Regions from separate parts of the Homo sapiens genome. Here all the other regions are linked to region 2. The links are contacts of gene promoters, found by promoter capture Hi-C in human tissues and cell types (Jung and others, 2019). All regions are on one chromosome and are shown on one strand. The core of a region is centred on a gene start or on the middle of the fragment in contact, and the rest is flanking DNA. Distances in the headings are between cores, read along the strand shown. Region 1 overlaps ZNF441 (zinc finger protein 441). Region 2 holds the start of ZNF563 (zinc finger protein 563). Region 3 holds the start of ZNF440 (zinc finger protein 440). Region 4 overlaps LOC124904638 (a long non-coding RNA gene). Region 5 has its middle 7.3 kb from the start of ZNF441.

The links. The method cuts DNA at HindIII sites, captures the fragments that hold promoters and counts their contacts. A contact is called where the count stands out against the background at its distance.
Region 1: a fragment that was not itself captured here is called in contact with the fragment with the promoter of ZNF563 in region 2 in 2 of the 25 tissues and cell types used here (IMR-90 fibroblasts and mesenchymal stem cells).
Region 3: a contact is called between the fragment with the promoter of ZNF440 here and the fragment with the promoter of ZNF563 in region 2, in 1 of the 25 tissues and cell types used here (psoas muscle).
Region 4: a fragment that was not itself captured here is called in contact with the fragment with the promoter of ZNF563 in region 2 in 1 of the 25 tissues and cell types used here (dorsolateral prefrontal cortex).
Region 5: a fragment that was not itself captured here is called in contact with the fragment with the promoter of ZNF563 in region 2 in 3 of the 25 tissues and cell types used here (aorta, dorsolateral prefrontal cortex and lymphoblastoid cells).

What each region holds. Positions count from the first base shown.
Region 1 is chr19:11,783,705-11,786,542 of GRCh38, forward strand. It overlaps ZNF441 (zinc finger protein 441), which reads left to right. Exons shown (of 4, transcript NM_152355.3): 4 at 1-374. Among named protein-coding and RNA genes, the nearest start is that of ZNF491, 13 kb to the right of the region's middle. The HindIII fragment of the contact is 7,851 bases long and covers 1-2,838 here.
Region 2 is chr19:12,332,192-12,334,891 of GRCh38, forward strand. It overlaps ZNF563 (zinc finger protein 563), which reads right to left and starts at 1,442. Exons shown (of 4, transcript NM_145276.3): 1 at 1,289-1,442. The coding sequence starts at 1,291. RefSeq lists enhancers at 796-905, 1,136-1,395, 1,498-2,363 and a silencer at 1,536-1,675. The HindIII fragment of the contact is 22,494 bases long and covers 1-2,700 here.
Region 3 is chr19:11,812,827-11,815,526 of GRCh38, forward strand. ZNF440 (zinc finger protein 440) reads left to right here and starts at 1,447. Exons shown (of 4, transcript NM_152357.3): 1 at 1,447-1,624. The coding sequence starts at 1,622. RefSeq lists silencers at 1,282-1,361, 1,782-1,851. The HindIII fragment of the contact is 18,958 bases long and covers 1-2,700 here.
Region 4 is chr19:11,583,281-11,586,157 of GRCh38, forward strand. LOC124904638 (a long non-coding RNA gene) reads left to right here. Exons shown (of 2, transcript XR_007067140.1): 2 at 137-384. It also overlaps the pseudogene GAPDHP76. Among named protein-coding and RNA genes, the nearest start is that of ACP5, 7.1 kb to the left of the region's middle. RefSeq lists enhancers at 605-744, 755-814. The HindIII fragment of the contact is 7,524 bases long and covers 1-2,877 here.
Region 5 is chr19:11,758,332-11,761,057 of GRCh38, forward strand. No RefSeq gene overlaps it. Among named protein-coding and RNA genes, the nearest start is that of ZNF441, 7.3 kb to the right of the region's middle. The HindIII fragment of the contact is 5,499 bases long and covers 1-2,726 here.

The DNA.
Region 1 (2,838 bases), core at 295-2,794, 550 kb before region 2:
GGAGGTGAAAAACTTCACCTCATGGAGATAGGGAATAGAATAAGTTATCCGGGGCTGAGAAGGGGAAATGAAGAGAAATTGGTGAATATGTACAAATTTCCATTTAGATCAAAGGAATAAGTTCTGATGTTAGAAAGCATACTAGAGTGAACTATAGTTAGCAAAAATATATTGCATATTTCAAAGTAGTTGGAAGAGAGGACTTGAAATGTTACCAACACATAGAAGTGGTAAATACTCAAGATCATGGATACCCCAAATACGCTGACTTGACCATTACACATTCTATGCATGCAAGAAATGCTCATGTGTACCTTATATATATGTAAAATATGTATCAATAAAAGAAAATATATAAGATAGTTTTAAAATAACACTATTGTCAGGTGTCTGTGGGCTGAGGAACAGCCTAAGGTGTAAACTTAAGTTCTTCTCAGGTCTTTTCTTAGTTGCACCTGTCCCTGGGCATGTGTGGTAACTGTCTAATTTTCTCTGCATGTATGGTTATTTTTGCACAACCTAATCTTCAGTGGCTCTCAAAAGGAGAGGAATAAAAGCATTAAGGGAAAAATAAAAGGCACCAGCCTGGAAGTCACTTCAGATGGAGGGGAAGGGCCTTCAAAAAATGGAGAGAGATGCAGCAGCAACAGTCACCACCACTTCTTTGTCTGTAACTCTGTGATCAGAAGCAACAATTATCAAGCAGTGCGCAGATCCCCAATATTTGGAAGACAGGTCCTTTTTGTCCACCCTGGCCCCCCAAAACTGCATGCAGACTGCTGTTAGAACTTATGCATAGCTACCTGTCATGGAGCTGAGGAGGGGGAATGAGTCAGGGCTGCTGACTCAACTAAGAGTTGAAATTGACCGAAATTAACCCAATTTTATTAGCCAATTATTTCCCTGGAAGCTGCAAGCTTTTAATAGTATCCGCAGTTTCAAAATAGCTACATGAGTTGGATTCTGCCAATGCAAATCCAGGTGGGGGATACAGATTCTTCATGCTTTTTATTCTGCCATCTTCCTTGAATCCTCTGACCTGACTTTTTATACTAATACATTACTTCAGGTCCCATCCCACATGTCACCTCCTCAGCAAGTCTTTCTGTCACCTCAGTTACTCCTTTCCATATATACATTTTTTTTAATACACTTTTCAGAGTCAGGGAAATCCGATTAGGTTCACAGACTTTACTGCTTTCTTAACAACCTATGAAAAGTCAAATCATATAAATGAACCAAACTGAATAGTGTCACTGTTACTTTTATGAAGTGTTATCCCGTAGATTTAAAAAAAAAGAAAGAAAGCCGGGCGCGGTGGCTCACGCCTGTAATCCCAGCACTTTGGGAGGACGAGGAGGGTGGATCACCTGAGGTCAGAAGTTCAAGACCAGCCTGGTCAACATGGTGAAATCCCGTCTCTACTAAATATACAAAAATTAGCCGGGCGTGGTGGCAGGCGCCTGTAATCCCAGCTACTCGGGAGGCTGAGGCAGGAGAATCGCTTGAACCCGGGAGGCAGCGGTTGCAGTGAGCCGAGATCGCACCATTGCGCTCCAGCCTGGGCAACAAGAGCGAAACTTCGTCTCAAAAGAAAAAAAAAACTGCTTTGCACCGATTTGCAGAAAAAGAGACAACGAACTCCCTCTCGTGGTGAGGATGGCATTAACATCCACACATAACTCCTTTAGGGTGTGGATTTCTGAATTGTGCTGAGATCTCCAGAATTTACAGCAAGTGATGGTCAGTTTAAAATATTCTGTGCCTTCAATGAAGAAGTAGTGTAGCAGGTTAGGGAGAAGAGAAGCAAATAAAATGGATGAGGTCCTCACTTAGTATATCACAATCTCTCCTGGAAGACTATTTATTTATTTATTTTTTTGAGACGGAGTCTCGCTTTGTCACCCAGGCTGGAGTGCAGTGGCGTGATCTCGGGTCACTGCAAGCTCCGCCTCCCGGGTTCACACCATTCTCCTGCCTCAGCCTCCCGAGTAGCTGGGACTACAGGCGCCCGCCACCACGCCCAGCTAATTTTTTGTATTTTTAGTAGAGACGGGGTTTCACCGTGTTAGCCAGGATGGTCTCGATCTCCTGACCTCGTGATCCACCCGCCTCGGCCTCCCAAAGTGCTTGGATTACAGGCATGAGCCACCGCGCCCGGCTCTGGAAGACAATTTCAAATGAATAAATCAAGGAACATGAGAGAGCCACAAGGGAGTTCAACCTGAGTCCAGTTAGACTCCTTGAAAGGGAAAGCTATTTACAGAATACTTCGGATTTAGCTGCGGAAATGATTTGATGGGTCAGTGGTGGTGGAGTGAGGTTGAGACCATTTAAAATAGGTGACGTAAACATGTGAAACCTCAGACACAGAGCCCTTGGTGTTAACCATGATCTGTTGAAAGTCAGAAGAATGAAGCAGAGGGAATTGTTGGAAGCTCACATTTGATTAGCTTTTTTACATATAACATGTGTTGACAAGGCCGGGAGCGGTGGCTCACGCCTGTAATCCCAGCACTTTGGGAGGACGAGGAGGGTGGATCACCTGAGGTCAGGAGATCGAGACCATCCTGGCTAACACGGCGAGACCTCGTCTCTACTAAAAATACAAAAAATTAGCTGGGCGTGTTGGCGGGCGCCTGTAGTCCCAGCTACTCGGGAGGCTGAGGCAGGAGAATGGTATGAACCCAGGAGGTGGAGCCTGCAGTGAGCCGAGATGGCGCCACTGCACTCCAGCCTGGACAACAGTGCGAGACTCCATCTCGACAACAACAACAACAAAAAACAATGTGTTGACGTAGAAATTATTTATTGATGTATTTTTCTCAAACTAATAAT
Region 2 (2,700 bases), core at 192-2,691:
ATTAAAGTCTTAATTAGGGAAAGGCTAAAGGGAACAGGGGAAAGCAGAAAGATAAAACAAAAAAGCTATAAATCTGCCTATCTTCATGTGCAGAGAATTTAAACAAAAGAGAATGCAGGTAAGTTACGGGTCTAACTTTGTTTTTTTTCTTTTTTCTTTTTTTTTTTTTTTTTGAGACGGAGTCTCTCTCTGTCGCCGGCCCAGACTGGAGTGCAGTGACGTGATCTCAGTTCACTGCAACCTCCGCCTCATGGGTTCAAGCGATTCTCCTGCCTCAGCCTCTCGAGTAGCTGAGATTACAGGCATGTGACACCACGTCTGGCTAATTTTTGTATTTTTAGTAGAGAAGGGGTTTCGCCATCTTGGCCAGGCTGGTCTGGAACTCCTGTACATGTCTAACTTTCTTTATGGCCCAAGACATGGCCTTCTTGCCCAGATAACGCACTTAATTCACAGACTTCCTGCTCACCATCAAACGCCTCAATTTATCAAACACCGGGGCTGACAGAGGAATGCAAGTTAAGCTCCCTGCTGCCTTGGCACTCTGCTGCCTTGGCACTATCAATCAGCCCAAGTTCCATTCTATAAAATCACCCACAAGCCTCTGCTTCTCTCCTGCAGGCTTCCCATGGCCTCCCTTGCGATGGATTTTGCTTCTTTCGCTAATAACTTTACCTACAACTGTCTTAGTAAAAATTATTTTACCCCGGCGTTACCGGCCCAGATAGCAGTCGTTCCCCTGTGACGGAGAGGAAGTCAGCTTTATGAAATGCAGGGCAAAATCTGGAAATCTAGGGATTTACTGCCAGCCCCAGGAGTTAGGGTGAGGGGACAAGATAAGCATTAGACATCTGCCTTCCCAAACCTTTGAAGACTCAGAGGGACACCGGTCCCCTTTAGGAAGAAAACAGAGACTGAGGATCCCACAGATCACAGCTCCTCACAGGCACGAACCCCACACACGAGTGGGGATTCCCTCCATGACCCTTCCGTGACCCTCCCCCAATCCTGGGGAGATGGGGGGCTGCGGGCGAGGAGCTGCCCAGACAGGGCTCCGAGGCCGGGACCGCAGTTGCCGCGCAGGGACCGGATAGGACGCCCGGGGTCCCGGCTGCCAGCTCAGCCTCACTCTGTGGCTGAGGGGACCGAGGGTCGAGCTGCGCCAGGGGGACTCGGGTCCCAGACCCCGGAGCTGACGGCGGGGGAGGCCCACGTTCGCCGCGGCCGGTTCTGGACGGTTCCAACCAGCTCTTTCCCACTTTTGGGACGCCTGACCCTGCACACGCACCATTTCCCGGCTTCCGGGATGTTCCAGGGTCCTCCCTCTGCCTCCCGCTGCCAGTGCGGGTCCCACTGTGACAGAGGCTGCCACAGACGTTCCAGGGCGTCTCTCAGCGACTGAGGCTACACAGACGTTCCAGGGCGTCTCTCAGCGAGCGACTGAGTCTAGAGCTGAGCGCAGGGGCGTGAAGACGCCGCGGGCTCTTTGAACCTGGCACCCTACTGCCAGCCGTGCGCCTGATTGACAGTTCTCACGACCCCGCCCCATAGCTCTGATTGGATAGGGCTCCAGGTCCCGCCCCCTGGGCACTGAGTGACAGAAGAAGCGATCACACAGTGCTGAGTCGAGCGGGATGAACGAGTTCCAGGCACAGCCCTTGACAGGGCAGGCTTCCTCCCTGTGCTGTCCTGATCCCTCCCAGGGAACATTTGCATTTATGCAGAATTACCTGCCCGTACTCAGCAGGCCCTTACTGCCTTTTCCTCCTGGAGAAGGAGTCACAAGTGTTTTGCAGGGAATCCCAGACTCACAGTCCAGTGGAGCCATTCCCCTGGCCTCAGAGCAGAGGGGAGCCCAAGGCCACACAGGCCACACTGCAGCAGGAGGGTGGCCTGATGTCCACCGGGCATCAGGATTTGAGGATGAGACTCTTGGCGGCAAGGTTAAGCCTTCCTCTCTCACCTTGCCTCTCAATCTGCTCATTTTCAGCCAAGGAAATAAAAACAAGTCAAGAACGGTATTAAAATATCAAATGTGTGGAAGAACTGAAATCACACGGCAGCAATAAATGAATGAATGAATCAAAACAAAAATACAACAGGAAAAAAAAAGCAAAAACTTGAACTAGTGCAGATAAGCAGCCTGCTGCCCTCATACTTCAGCAAACGTCCCATTCAGGAGGCTAAACATATGCCCAAACTTGGCAGCCACTCTTAACTGTTGAAATGGAACCCCAGAGTGAACCAAAACCTGGTGATGAGACTGGGACACTGAAGGATTTGACTCTGGGAGCTCAACATACTTCCCTGTGCCCTCTGCAGAGTGTGGAAATGCCCCCACCGTCAAGATGTGCATTTTCACCAACAGGAAAGTTTCATGTAAAGTTAGTTTAAGGGCCCGGGGCGGTGGCTCACGCCTGCAATCCCAGCACTTTGGGAGGCCGAGGCGGGTGAATCACCTGAGGTCACCAGTTGGAGACCAGCCTGGCCAACATGGTGAAACCACATCTCTACTAAAAATACAAAAATTAGCTGGGCATGGTGGCGGGCACCTGTAATCCCAGCTACTCGGGAGGCTGAGGCAGGAGAATCACTTGAACCTGGGAGGCGGAGGTTGCAGTGAGCCGAGATCGTGCCACGGCATTCCAGCCTGGGTGACAGAGTGAGACCTGGTCTCAAAAAAAAAAAAAAAAAAAAAAA
Region 3 (2,700 bases), core at 197-2,696, 520 kb before region 2:
AGAATATTGAATTTATCATTGTAAGGTGTGGAGCAATGAAGATGCCCAAGAGGCCAGGCGCACACCTGTAATCCCAACACTTTGGGAGGCTGAGGCTGGAGGATCACTTAAGCTCAGGAGTTTGAGATCAACCTGAACAACCGAATGAGACCTCATCTCTACCAAAAATAAAAAACTAGCCAGGCATGGTGGCAGGCACTTGTAGTCCCACCTACTTAGGAGGCTGAGGTGGGAGGATTGCTTGAGTCTGGGAGGTTGAGGCTGCATTGAGTAGCCATCGCACCACTGCACTCCAGCTTGGGCGACAGAGTGAGACCCCGTCTCAAAAAAAGATGGCTAAAACATAATTTTTTTTTTTTTGAGATGGAGTCTCACTGTGTCTCAGGCTGGAATGCAGTGGCACGATCTTGGCTCACTGCAAACTCTGCCTCCCGGTTCAAGCAATTCTCCTGCCTCAGCCTTTCAAGTAGCTGGGATTACAGGCATGCGCCACCATTCCTGGCTAATTTTTGTATTTTTAGTAGAGATAGGATTTCACCATGTTGGCCAGGCTGGTCTTGAACTCCTGACCTCGTGATCCACCTGCCTCAGCCTCTCAAAGTGCTGGGATTACAGGCATGAGCCACCGCGCCCGGCCTGCCTAAATCATAATTTCTATGACAGAATTTCTCATTTACAGCTTCCCCTGAGACCATCTTTCATTTCAGTTAACCCTGCTCCTTGGGGGTTATATGTGAGATAAAAGTGCCATGCTATATCATGTTCCCTGGCTCAGTCCTACACAGCATGTCCTGAAAAATGGGTCTTCAGTCACTGTCAATGCACCAGGGATAGATATACATAGTACTGAGAGCCTCTAAATCTTTAATAAGTTCTGGCTTGGTTAGCTCCCTTACAAGGAAAACCTTGCTGGAGTCCATAGCAGTGTGAGGAAGCCTTGGCCATGCCTCATCCCATTTCCCGCACGCTGGAAGACATCTGCCTCTCTCTCCTGGTGCAGTCGTGCCTTGCCTGGTCTGGGCTCCCCTCCTGCTCTGAGGCAAGCGTATCTCTCCATTGAACACTGAGTCTGAAATGCCCTGCACACACTTGTGATCCCGTGCAGAAGGAAGGAGCAGGGACAGCCCCTTGAATGAGGAAGCTAACAGTGCCTCTTCTAACAATAAGGAGCAAGTCGCCTTGAAATGCAAATATCTGATGACCAGGGCTCAAGGAAGGCGCTCGCTTAGAGAGGCTGTTCGCTTAGAGAGGCTGCTCGCTTAGAGAGGCTGCTCGCTCAGAGACGCTGTGGCCAGAACAAGTCAGACATGATCTGCAGGACCCGGTTACCCAGGGCTTCTGCTGTCACTCAGCACGGAGGAGGCGGGGCCTGGCGCCCCATCCAATCAGGGGTGCTGGGGCGGGGCCCTGTCAACTGTCCATCCGGGGAAGGGGGAAGGGACAGTCGCCCTCCGTCCATTCCTTTAGTGCTGCGCCGACAGCGGTCAGGATCTCGGCTTTCTTGCTTCGAGAGGGACTAGGTGCCTCCACCAGAGCTTCTGTCGCTCTGTAACCTGCACTGTGACCTACACTAGTCGCGGGAGCCACGCAGAGGACGCCGGAACACCCTGGAAGCCGAGAAATGGTGTGTGTGAGGGGGCTGGCGTCCGGGCGACTGGGAGAGGGGCTGGAATCGGCCGGAACCGGCTGAGGCGGGACCCGGGCCTCCACGCGGCGACTCCGGGGTCGTGGACGCGAGTCCCCTCGGTCGCAGGGTGGGGCTGGGCCGGCAGCCGGGACCCCGGGCCTCCTGTCCCGTCCCTTCACGGCGACTGCGGCCCCGGCTCCGGAGCCTAATCTGGGCAGCTCCGCGTCTCCCCACATTATGCGGGGGCCACGGGAGGGATATGGGGGGATCCCGCCTCGGATATGGGGTTTGTTAGAAACAAGTGCCCGGTGCCGCAAAGAAAACCAGCATCTAGGCAGAAAATTCCTCAGCAAAGCAAATTTATTTCTACACAAGGGTGCAGCTTGCGCCAGTCACAAGAGCACAGCGAGCGGGGTAGGGCAGGGGTTTTTCTCCTTAACGCAGTTTCTAGCACTTCTGTGTCCTTTCCTCATTGGCTAGGGTTGGACCTCACAATCTAAACTAACTCGATAGGCTAAGGTTTAAAATTAAATAGGGTCTGGCCAGGCGCGGTGGGTCACGCCTGTAACCCCAGCACTTTGGGAGGCCGAGGCAGGCGGATCGCGAGGTCAGGAGATCGAGACCATCCCTGGCTAACACGGTGAAACCCCGTCTCCACTAAAAATACAAAAAAATTAACTGGGTATGGTGGCGGGCGCCTGTAGTTCCAGCTACTCGGGAGGCTGAGGCAGGAGAATGGCGTGAACCCGGGAGGTGGAGCTTGCAGTGAGCCGAGATCGCACCACTGTACTCCAGCCTGGGCAACAGAGCGAGACAACTGGGCAACTCCGTCACACACACACACACACACACACACACACACACACACACACAAATTAAATAGGGTCTATGAGACGGGAAGGAACAGGGACTGTCCGTTACTAGGCGGGAAGGCGTATCTGGACTTGTCTGGGCGCGGCAAAAGCGGGAAGGTTGTTTACAGAACAGGTAGCTAGGAGACAAGGAAGTCGGTCTCAAGAAACAAAGAACAGCTTACTAAAGCTTTTAGAAAAGTAATTTATCATCTCTGACAG
Region 4 (2,877 bases), core at 376-2,875, 750 kb before region 2:
AGTAAAAGAGTATAGAATAAAATGCATCACACTTATAAAATGTAAAATGTTAATTTCAATCCACTAAACTTATAAACGGACCCAAATATGCATCCAATGACCTCTTAAAGTGATATTTCTTTTTCTTTTTGTTGAGATGGAGTCTCACTCACTCTGTCACCCAAGCTGGAGCGCAGTGGTGTGATCTTCAGCTCGTCCCAACCTCCGTCTCCCAGGTTCAAGCGATTCTCCTGACCTCAAGTGATCCGTCTGCCTTGGCATCCCAAAGTGCTGGGATTACAGGCCTGAGGCCAGGCCCTGAATTAATTTTTTGATGTTTCACTTTGCCAGGTGTATAAGTAACATGTTAGTTGTGATTGTAACTAAATAAAGGCTTAAGGGAAACCGTGTTTCTAAATTTCTAAATTGACTACACATTTACAAAGGAACCCACAAAGATGGATTTTTGGGCCGGGCGCAGTGGCTCACGCCTGTAATCCCAGCACTTTGGGAGGCTGAGGCAGACAGATTGCCTGAGTTCAGGAGTTCAAGATCAGCCTAGGCAACAAGGTGAAACCCTTTCTCTACTAAAATACAAAAAAATTAGCTGGGCATGGCAGCGAGCACCTGTAATCCCAGCTACTTGGGAGGCTGAGGCCGGAGAATTGCTTGAACCAGGGAGGCAGAGGTTGCAGTGAGTCGAGATCACACCACCGCACTCCAGCCTGGGCAACACAGTGAGACTCGATCTTAAAAAAAAAAAAAAAAGATGGACTTTTTCGGGGCCCCAAGGCTTCAAAATTCAAAATGCTGTCATGAGTTAGTTTGATTTGAGGAACCAAAAATTGGCTTTTGTGGCTGGAGCAGAGTGAGCAAGGGGGAAGTGAATCCGGAAGGTTGAGTCTGCAAGGTCAAGGGCAAGGAACAGAGAAGGGTGTGGGTGGGGCAGGTTGCGTGTGCTCTTGGGGGCTGCAGGGAAGGGGGCTTTTATCTGGGTAAGGTGGGAGCCACAGAGGGTTCTGATCAGAGGGACAGATCTGACTTAGATTTTGCATGATGTCCCCCAGCTGTGGGCTGCGGGGCATGGGCTGCTGAATAGGTGGTTTAGGTGGGCAAAGATGGGTCATGGTGCCCCCTACCCTTTAAAAATTAAAAGACAGGGCCAGGAGCAGTGGCTCACGCCTGTAATCCCAGCACTTTGGGAGGCTGAGGTGGGCGGATCACCTGAGGTCAGGTGTTTGAGACCAGCCTGACCAACAAGGTGAAACCCCATCTCTACTAAAAATACAAAAAAAATTAGCTGGGCGTGGTGGCAGCCACCTGTAATCCCAGCTACTCGGGAGGCTGAGGCAGGAGAATCGCTTGAACCCGGGAAGCAGAGGTTGCAGTGAGCCAAGATCGTGCCACTGCACTCCAGCCTGGGCGACAAGAGCAAGACTGTCTCAAATAATAATAATAGGCCGGGTGTGGTGGCTCACACCTGTAATCCCAGCACTTTGGGAGGTTGAGGTGGGTGGATCACTGGAGCCCAGGAGTTTGAGACAAGCCTGGGTGACACAGTGAGACCCCATCTAAATTATTATTATTATTATTATTTGAGACAGAGTCTTGCTCCATCACCCAGGCTGGAGTGCAGTGGCGCGATCTTGGCTCACTGCAAGCTCCGCCTCCCGGGTTCACGCCATTCTCCTGCCTCAGCCTCCCAAGTAGCTGGGACTACAGGTGCCCGCCACCACGCCCAGCTAATTTTTTGTATTTTTTAGTAGAGACGGGGTTTCACCATGTTAGTAAGGATGGTCTGGATCTCCTGACCTTGTGATCCGCCTGCCTTGGCCTCCCAAGGTGCTGGGATTACAGGCGTGAGCCACCATGCCCAGCCTGAATTTTTTTTCTTAAAGATTAAAAAGGCAGAGCCTCTCTGCTCCTCCCATTTGACAGACAGCCACATCTTTTCATGCAGTGAAAAAGGCATGTCCCCGAGACACCGTGGTGAAAGTGAAGACAGGAGTAAATGGATTTGGCCATATTGGGTGCCTGGTCACCAGGGCACCAGAGCTGCTTTTAACTCTGGCAGAATGGATGTTGTCACCTCAATGACCCCTTCATTGACCTCAACTACATGGTCTACATGTTCCAATATGATTCTACCCACGGCAAGTTCCGCGGCACCATCAAAGCTGAGAAGTGGGCTGGGTGTGGTGGCTCATGCTTGTAATCTCAGCTACTTAGGAGGTTGAGGTGGGAGGATCACTTGAGACCAGGAGTTCAGGACCAGCCTAGGCAACATAGGGAGATCCTCTCTCTCTTAAAAAAAAAAAAAAAGAAAAGAAAAGACTGAGAAAGAGAAGGGAAGCTTGTCATCAATAGGAAATGGGAATCTCATCCCCATCTTCTAGAAGCCAGATCCCAGCAAAATCAAATTGGGTGACGATGCTGGCACTGGTTATGTCATGGAGTCCACCAGCAGCATCTTCACGACCATGGGGAAGGCTGGGGCTCGCTTAGGATGGGCAGCCAAAGGGATCACCATCTCTGCCCCCTCTGCCCATGCCCCCATGTTTGTGATGGACATGAACCATGAGAGATACAAAAACCTCATGATCGTCAGCAATGCCTCCTGCACCACCAACTGCTTACCCTCCGGCCAAGGTCATCCGTGACAACGTTTTTTTTTGGTTTGGTTTGGTTTTCTTTCTTTCTTTTTTCTTTTTTTGTTTTAAATAGGGATGGAGGCCAGGTGCAGTGACTCATGCCTGTAATCCCAACACTTTGGGAAGCTGCGGTTGGAGGATCACTTGAGCCTAGGAGTTCAAGACCAGCCTGGCCAACATAGCAAGACTCTGTCTCTACAAAAAGTTTAAAAAAATTATCCAGGCATGGTGGGGTGTATCTGTAGTC
Region 5 (2,726 bases), core at 210-2,709, 570 kb before region 2:
TTAAGTATGTTTTTGAAGAAAATTTTCTAAGAGTGAATAAATTTAAGCCAGGATTATTCTTTTTTATTTATTTATTTATTTATTTATTTTGCTTGTTTTAAAATTTTCCTGTCTTTTTTTTTAGACGGAGTCTTGCACTTTCGCCTGAGCTGGAGTGCAATGGCATGATCTCGACTGACTGCAACGTCCTCCTCCCGGGTACATGCGATTCTCCTGCCTCAGCCTCCTAAGTAGCTGGGACTACAGGTTCACACCACCACGCCTGGCTAATTTTTTGTATCTTTAGTAGAGACAGGGTTTCACTATGTTGGCCAGACTGGTCTCGAATTCCCGACCTCCTGAACTGCGCCCCACCCCCCCACCCTTTCAAAGTGCTGGAATTATAGGTGTGAAAAATTTCCTGTCACTTTAAGAATTATTCCAAAGACATATCTTTCTCTTCCTAGGGCAAATTACCTTAGATTTCTTCTGGGAATTTTGTACTAATCTTTAATGTTTTGGTCTTCCCATTTCATTCCTAAAATGTAGACCCAGAAGAATCACTATATATTATTATAAAATTACATTGAGGCCGGGGGCGGTGGTTCACGCATGTAATCCTAGCACTTTGGGAGGCCGAGGTGGGTGGATCGTCTGAGCTCAGGAGTTCGAGACAAGCTTGGGCAACACAGTGAAACCCCGTCTCTACTAAAAAATACAAAAAAATATTAGCCGGGCATGGCGGCGTGCGCCTGTAGTCCCAGCTACTCGGGAGGCTGAGGCAGGAGAATCAGTTGAACCCAGGAGGCAGAAGCTGCAGTGAGCCAAGATCGTGCCACTACACTCCAGCCTGGGTGACAGAGCAAGACTCCATCTCAAAAAAAAAATAATAATAAATAAAAATAAAATTATATTAAAAATGTAAGATTTTATGTAGACTGCAGTTATGGATGATTTATTCACCAAACCACAGTTGACTCTTCAACAACACAGGTTTGAACTGCATAGATCTCCTTACATACAAATTTTCTTCAGTTTCTGCTACTACTGAGACAGCAAGACCAACCCCTCCTCTTATTCAGCCTACTCAATGTGAAGACAATAAGGATGATAACATTTATGATGCTCCACTTCTACTTAATGAAATAGTAAATATAGTTTTTTCTCCTTGTGATTTTCTGATTAACATTTTTCTCTGCCTTAGTTTATTGTGAGAAAACAATATGTAATGCATATGACATATAAAATATGTGTTAATTGAATGTATATCTTACCAGTAAGGTTTCTGGTCAACAGTAGGCTATTAGTAGTCAAGTTGCGGGGGAGAAAAAAGTTATTTGAAGATTTGTGACTGCATTGAGGGCTGGTGCCCCTAATCCCTGCATTGTTCAAGGGTCAAACGTATTTCTTTTATATTCTAAATCTTTGAACAGCATTGGTGACGAAGAAACAAATATTCGTAATTGACTAAGTAAAGACATGATGTCCCCCTTACCTATACAGTCTAGGTTCCTGATGGTTTCCCGTAGCACATCTCTGTAGAGACTCTTCTATGATGGACCCAGCAAAGCCCACTCCTCCCAGGCAAAAGATCAAAGCCACATCCTCAAAGGCCACTGAGTCCTGAAACACCCGACACGTGCAGAGGAGGAAAGCTGAAACTGACAGCACTGGGAATCTGTACTCACTACATAAATGTCACATGATGCTGTGGTGTCCAAACATTTATGCAACGACACGGTAATCCAACTCTTACCCTCTTTCTAAACTCATTTTCTCCCAGAATGCAATTCTAATGCTAGAATTAAACGTGTTTGGTAAAATAACAGTCGAATTATAAAATGCCACTCCTTGGTGAGTTAAAGGAGTGACATTTATTGCCTAGATCACCCCTAATATCTATGTGTACAGGATGTTTGTAATTCCTGATGTGACAAAGTCCTCCTACCTAATGGGCAGAAGAGTTAACATCAGCTGTCCTGAGACCGCATATTGTTACAAATGCTTGCTCACAAAGTTGAACCTTTCACTATATCTAGGAACTAAATTTAGTTAGGGGGCTTCACCAACATAAGCGATAATGGAGGATGAGTGTCCCTAAACTATGTAAAAAATATGGTATCTGCTGAACTCCTATGTTCCCTCTGAGAGTTCAAACTTTTGTGATATGCTTGGCAGAGGGAGCATACCTGATCATTCACTACTAGGTTTTTTGCTTGTTTTTGTTTTTGTTTTTGTTTTTTTTGAGACAGAGTCTTGCTCTGTCTCCAGGCTGGAGTGCAGTGGCGCAATCTCGGCTCACTGCAACCTCCGCCTCCTGGGTTCAAGCGATTCTCCTGCCTCAGCCTCCCGAGTGGCTGGGATTACAGGCGCACACCACCATGCCCAGCTAATTTTTGTATTTTTAGTAGAGACAGGGTTTCACCATGTTGGCTAGGATGGTCTCGATCTCTTGACCTCGTGATCCACCCACCTCAGCCTCCCAAAGTGCTGGGATTACAGGAGTGAGCCACCGCGCCCGGCCATTCACTGCTAGGTTTGAATGTTTGTCCCCTCCAAAATGCTTGTTGAAACATAATCGCCAATGTGGCACTAATGAAAGGTGAGGCCTTTAAGAGGTGAGTAGATCTTAAGGGTTCAGACCTCATAAATAAATTAATCCATTCATGAATTCATGGCTTACTGAATTAATGAGTTATCTCAGGAGTGGGACTGATGGCCATATTAAAAAAGAAGGGAACCTGAGC